Regions from separate parts of the Homo sapiens genome. Here region 2 is linked to region 1. The links are contacts of gene promoters, found by promoter capture Hi-C in human tissues and cell types (Jung and others, 2019). All regions are on one chromosome and are shown on one strand. The core of a region is centred on a gene start or on the middle of the fragment in contact, and the rest is flanking DNA. Distances in the headings are between cores, read along the strand shown. Region 1 holds the start of MEIS3 (Meis homeobox 3). Region 2 overlaps BICRA (BRD4 interacting chromatin remodeling complex associated protein).

Region 1 (2,700 bases), core at 122-2,621:
GAGAGCGAGAGACAGAGACGGACAGACAGACGGATGGACAGACAGAGGGAAAGACTGGAGGAAGAGCCTCAGAAAGCCGGAGCCTCCCCCCTGCTCCCTCCGTCCCCCGCCGGCATCCTCCATCCTCCCCCAATCAATTTCTCTCCCACACACTTATTTCTCCCTTCCCAACAGCTCGTCTCTTTCTTTAATTAGAAAGATTTATGCTTCAGAGTCCAAGCCCCCTGCTCTTGTTTTGGGGGTGGCAGGGACGACTCCAGGGTCTCTATTGGAGCTCCTGTCCCCCACTCCCTCCCCCTCCTGTCTGTCTCACTCTGTCTGCACCTCTCTCTCTCTCTCCTCCCACCCGCGTCTGTCTCTGTCTCTCTCTCTCTCTGAATCACACCGTCACTGGAGTTACCTCCCTCCCCACTCCAGTTAGGCCCCATCCCCATCCCAGGTGCCCCCTCCCTCCCTTCCTGCTCTGTCCACGCCCCCCACCACTGGCCGTCAGATGAGGCCGCACTTGCTCCTCTAGGTTTCAGAATCAGCCTGGGCTAAGGGGACCTTAGCATGCACCACCCCCCAAAAAAGCAAATAGAGCCAGAGACTCCTAACCCTTGCATCCCTCACCCCAAGTCTTGGCTGAGGGTGAGGTGGGGGTGGAGCAGACCAAAGGGCCTTGTGTCTTTAATTAAAAAGTGATTTAAATTAATTTTCTGCTCCAAAACCCCTATCTGGGGTGCGCCGGCCTTGAGGAAAGGCAAGGCCTCCAGACCCTTCCCCTCGGACTGCCTTAAACGGCCAGCCTCACCGCAGGACAGCCACGGGGGCAGAGCCCGCCGGCATGGGGACCCCCAGACTCAGCCAAGACCCTGAGTCCTGGCACCCTCTAGCTTAACTGTTTCTCCGTTATCCACAGCCCACCCCCGCCGCCCCCAGCGCACTGCCCATCCTGCAGAGGGGGAATCGAGCCTCAGAGAGGGGAGAGCCTACGGTGGGACCAGACTCCAGATTCCCACGTGACCCCTGGAGATGGCCAGGGAGGGGGTCCGTGGTGTGTCCAGGGGGCTCGGAGAACAGAGAGCCAGAGGAGAGAAAGGACGGGAGAAGCGGAGACAGAGAGAGACAAGGAGAGAGAGACTGGGAAAGAGGGAGACTGAGAAACCCGGAGCAGGAACCCCAGCCCTGGGTAGGAGAGGAGGGGCCTGGGGGCACCAGGGCCGCGGTCTCTTCCTCTCCTCCCCCCACAGCCTGCCCCTCCCCGACTCCCACCGGAAGTGCTGCTGCTGCCCTAACCCCAATCCCTCGTGCTGTAGCTCTGCAGGCTCACTCTGGCTCATCCCCTATCCCGCTCCTTGGTGGTTCTGTTTAATTTCCACAAGACAAGGGAGAGACCGGGAACGGGGAGCGCGGCTGCCAGCACCCCTGAGCCGCCGCCGGACCCTCCGTCGCCCCGGGCCGCCCCCCGCCCCCTGCGGTCCCCGGTGTGTCCGTCTCGGGACGGTTCGATTCCCTCCAGAGCCGGGGAAGGGACGGGGGGGGCCCAGAGGAGGGGGCCTCGGGCGCCCCGCCTGCGCCTGCTGCCCCCGCCCCGGCGGCGATGCGCTCCTGGCCGTGACCCCCGCTGGGGGCGGGGGCCGGGGTCCATGCGCGGAGTCCCCACCCGGCCCGGCGCCTGCCGCTGACGGCGGCGGGGGTGGGGGGGCGCGCGCCTGGCCTCCTGCCCACCCCCTGGCGTCAACACCGCGGGCCGTCAGGGGCTGCGGCCCCGGGCTGCGCCCTCCCCCGCGGCCAGGCTCTGGAGGGACCCAGGAGCTGCCGCCGGCCTCAGCCCATGGCCCGGAGGGTAGGTCTCGGGGCGGGGACCCCGCGTCCCGGCCGCTTCCGCACCCCCTGTCCCTGCATCCCCCACTCTCCGGCGCTGGCCCCCATTAGCCCATCCGTCCTCTACACCACCTCGCTCTCTCTCTGCCCCTCCCTCCGCCCCTGGGTCTCCCAGTCCCTGTGTGCCCCCTCTCTGCCCCCAAGTGTCTCTTCCTGGCCCTCGGCCTCGCCTCCTCCCCATCGTTTAGCTTCTCCTTCTCCCTGCCCCTCTGTCCCCCTCTGTCTGCCCCACTCTCCTCCTCCTTTCTGCCTCTCTGTCCCCCTCTCTCTGTCCCTGGTCTCCCCCCTCTTTCTGCCTCTCTATCCCCCTCTCTCTGCCCTCCCCCACCCGCAGTCTCTCTCCTCTGTTCCTGGGCTTCCTCCTCCATCTCAGCCGCCCGCACCTCACCGTCCCCCCTTTTTTCTGCTCTCCTCCGTCCTTCCCTTCGCTCTACTTTTGTTCCAAGCCGCCCCTGCCTCTCCAGGGCTAGGAGTGGGACAGGGGTGGGAGAGGTGGTCTCACCAGGCTGCTGGCCCCACGGAGCCTGTCTCCCTGGGGATGGGAACGGGGATAGAAGACAGGGGAGGAGGCGCGCGCCCGTTTTGGGGGTTCCGGGTAGGCTGTGAGGACCGCTTTTGGTGAGAGTGCCTTGAGCAGCGGGGAGCAGTTGGATTCAACTTCAGGGCACAGGAGAAGTTAGGAGAAGAGGGAGAGGGAAAGAGTGGGACACACAGAACCAGGGTGCCCAGCCAGGCGAGGGTCCGAGGCAGGAACGTTCTAGCCTCTTCCCGTGCGAGTCCTGCTGCCTCTTTGAGCCTCCGTGTCTTCATCACTGAGGAAGGGATTTGACCTGA
Region 2 (2,700 bases), core at 32-2,531, 200 kb before region 1:
TGGCAGAACATTGCTTCGTTCAGCCTCACAGCAGACCCTACGAGGGAGGCATCATGGGCCCATTTTATAGACAAGGAAACTGAGGCCATGCAAAGGAATTGCTTGCCCAGGGTCACACTGCAATTAAGCAGAGAAGCCAGCATTCCATCCAACACCTGCCAATTAAGGGGGTCACAGTCCCCAGGAGAAATAAACTGCCTAAGAATGACAGGTGACACCGACACTGACTGACAAGGCTACCTTGGCACTTTATGGGTGTTTGGGGACCCTCACAAGAGCCTTACCAAGTAGGTACTGATATGAACCCACTTAATAGAGGGGAAAACCAAGGCCCCAAGCAAGTCCCCTGTCCACAGCCATTCAGCCAGCAAATAGCAGAACTGGGATTAGAACCAACAGGCAGGGCCCAGAGCCCACGCTCCTGACCTCCACACCAGGTGGCAAGCACATGACGCAGGCCATAAGCAGGAGGAAGAGGCAAGGAGGTCATCAGACACAAGGAGGTCACCTGAGGCAAAGACACGTGCAGCCTGGAGATGCTGCCTGGGCGACAGGTGGGATCACATTGAAGAGGAGAGAAAGAGAACAACTTTCTTCAAGGTGCAGCATGAGGGGCCGGGCACGGTGGCTCACGCCTGTAATCCCAGCACATTGGGAGGCCAAGGCGGGAGGAGTGCTTGAACAGGATTTCAAGACCAGCCTGGGCAACACAGTGAGACCTCGTCTTTACCAAAAATATTAAAACTCCCTGGGCGTGGTGGCGTGCACCTGTAGTCCCAGCTACTGGGGAGGCTGAGATGCGAGGCTCACTTGAGCCCAGGAAGGATAATGCTGCAGTGAAAAGTGATGGCGCCACTGCACTCCAGCCTGGGTGACACAGCAAGATTCTGTCTCAAAAAAATAAAAAAAGATGCAACGTGCAACATCAAAGGTGCTCCGTAAGAGCTACCAAAAGACAAATCACTGGCCCTTGATCTAGCAATCCCACTTCCAGGAGTCTATCCCACAGGCGTACTCATTTCCCTGTAACATGTGCGGACGTATGCCTTCCCATGCTTCACACAGAAACCTTTGGAAACACCTCCACGTCCATAACAGTAAAGGAGGATTCACCCACACAGAGGAATACCATGCAGCCAAGAAAAAGATAGAGGAAGACCTACATTGGTAGGGTCTCCCAGGGAGATGAAGCGTGGAAAAAAAGCAATGCATAGACCAGACTACCATCTGTGTAAGATGAATAGTTTTTTGTTTGTCTGTTTGTTTGTTTTAGACAGAGTCTCGCTGTGTCGCCCAGGCTGGAGTGGAGTGCAGTGCTACCGCAATCTCGGCTCACCGCAACCTCCGCCTCCTGCATTCAAGCAATTCCCCTGCCTCAGGCTCCTGAGTAGCTGGGATTACAGCCATGCACCACCATGCCCAGCTCATTTTTGTATTTTTAGGAGAGATGGGGTTTCACCATGTTGGCCAGGCTGGTCTTGAACTCCTGACCGCAGGTGATCTGCCCACTTCAGCCTCCCAAAGTGCTGGGATTACAGGCGTGAGCCACCATGCCCGGCCTGAATAGTTTTAAACACATAACATCCATATATAAAAGTACATGCACAGAACATCAGAATGGAGGTGCTGTCTCTGGGGAAGAGAGCTAGGGGACCAGGGATTCTGGAGAGGTTAGAGGGAGAGACACCATCTTTAGTGTTCTGAATTTGCCCCGTGTGTGTATCACTTAGAACAAAAGGAACAAAAGGCAGACAGAGAAAAAGATGATGTCTCAGACCACCCAGACAGAATGAATGAAACCCCACAGCGGCTAATCCAACCGTTCTCTCTCCTCCTCCTGGACTGTGTCCCAAGGTCTTAACTGATCCCCAGGGCCCTGTCACACAGTAGGCCCTCAGGAAGTTTAATTGGGAACAATTAAAGAAACAAAGGCCTTCTCTGCTTGTGCCAACACTCCTTTCCCCCTCCCCCCAATGAATACATACACTCATACACAAAACTAATTGTCACCAAACTAGAAATGCCTTAGAAAACTCTCCCTCTCCACTGGGGAAACTTGCGTGTCACTGAGACACAAAAGCTTCAGTCAACTGGGACAAAACTCTACTGGTGGTACTCCAGGCAGAGGAGAATGCGAGGGACGGAACCAGGAGACACTCCCTGGGGACCCCTCAACCAAACGCTCCCCATGCGTCTCTAGTGTGGCATAAGGTGCATCCTACCAGGGAGCTAGCTCAGACAAGACAGGGGACAAAAAACCAGAGGGATATGAAGGGGTGAGTAAGGAGGGGGCAATTCTTCTGCTGGGGGAGCAGGCAGCAGTTGTCATCGTGGACACGGCACGGGTGACTGCTCTTGTTTCTACTAAGTGAGGGTGCCTGGTCGGGGAAGAAAGCTCAAATATGACCAGGGCAAGATAACCATACTCCCCACCCCTCTCCCCTGCAGGGCGGGAGAAGGGAAATGGCAGCCCCTCTGCCTTCCAAGCCCAGGCGGCCTGGAAAGGAATGCCATGTTTTCCTGTTTCCAATTAACTTCCCCTACCAGCAGCCTTCTGCATTCTTGAGACCTGGAGTCAAGGCAGCCTGGCGGGTGGGGGTTGAGAGCTGGCGGGGGAACTGGGCTGCTGGCTAGACCTGGGCTACAAGGTGGCCCACGGGAACCTGGGGAGCCTTATACACCCCCAGGAACTCCCCCTTC

The links. The method cuts DNA at HindIII sites, captures the fragments that hold promoters and counts their contacts. A contact is called where the count stands out against the background at its distance.
Region 2: a fragment that was not itself captured here is called in contact with the fragment with the promoter of MEIS3 in region 1 in 2 of the 25 tissues and cell types used here (IMR-90 fibroblasts and neural progenitor cells).

Annotation. Positions count from the first base shown.
Region 1 is chr19:47,418,198-47,420,897 of GRCh38, reverse strand. It overlaps MEIS3 (Meis homeobox 3), which reads left to right and starts at 1,371. Exons shown (of 13, transcript NM_001301059.2): 1 at 1,371-1,828. The coding sequence starts at 1,817. RefSeq lists enhancers at 1,291-2,284, 2,285-2,700. The HindIII fragment of the contact is 42,961 bases long and covers 1-2,700 here.
Region 2 is chr19:47,613,195-47,615,894 of GRCh38, reverse strand. All of the region lies in intron 1 of BICRA (BRD4 interacting chromatin remodeling complex associated protein), which reads right to left. Among named protein-coding and RNA genes, the nearest start is that of BICRA, 5.4 kb to the right of the region's middle. RefSeq lists enhancers at 1-798, 2,461-2,700. The HindIII fragment of the contact is 4,325 bases long and covers 1-2,700 here.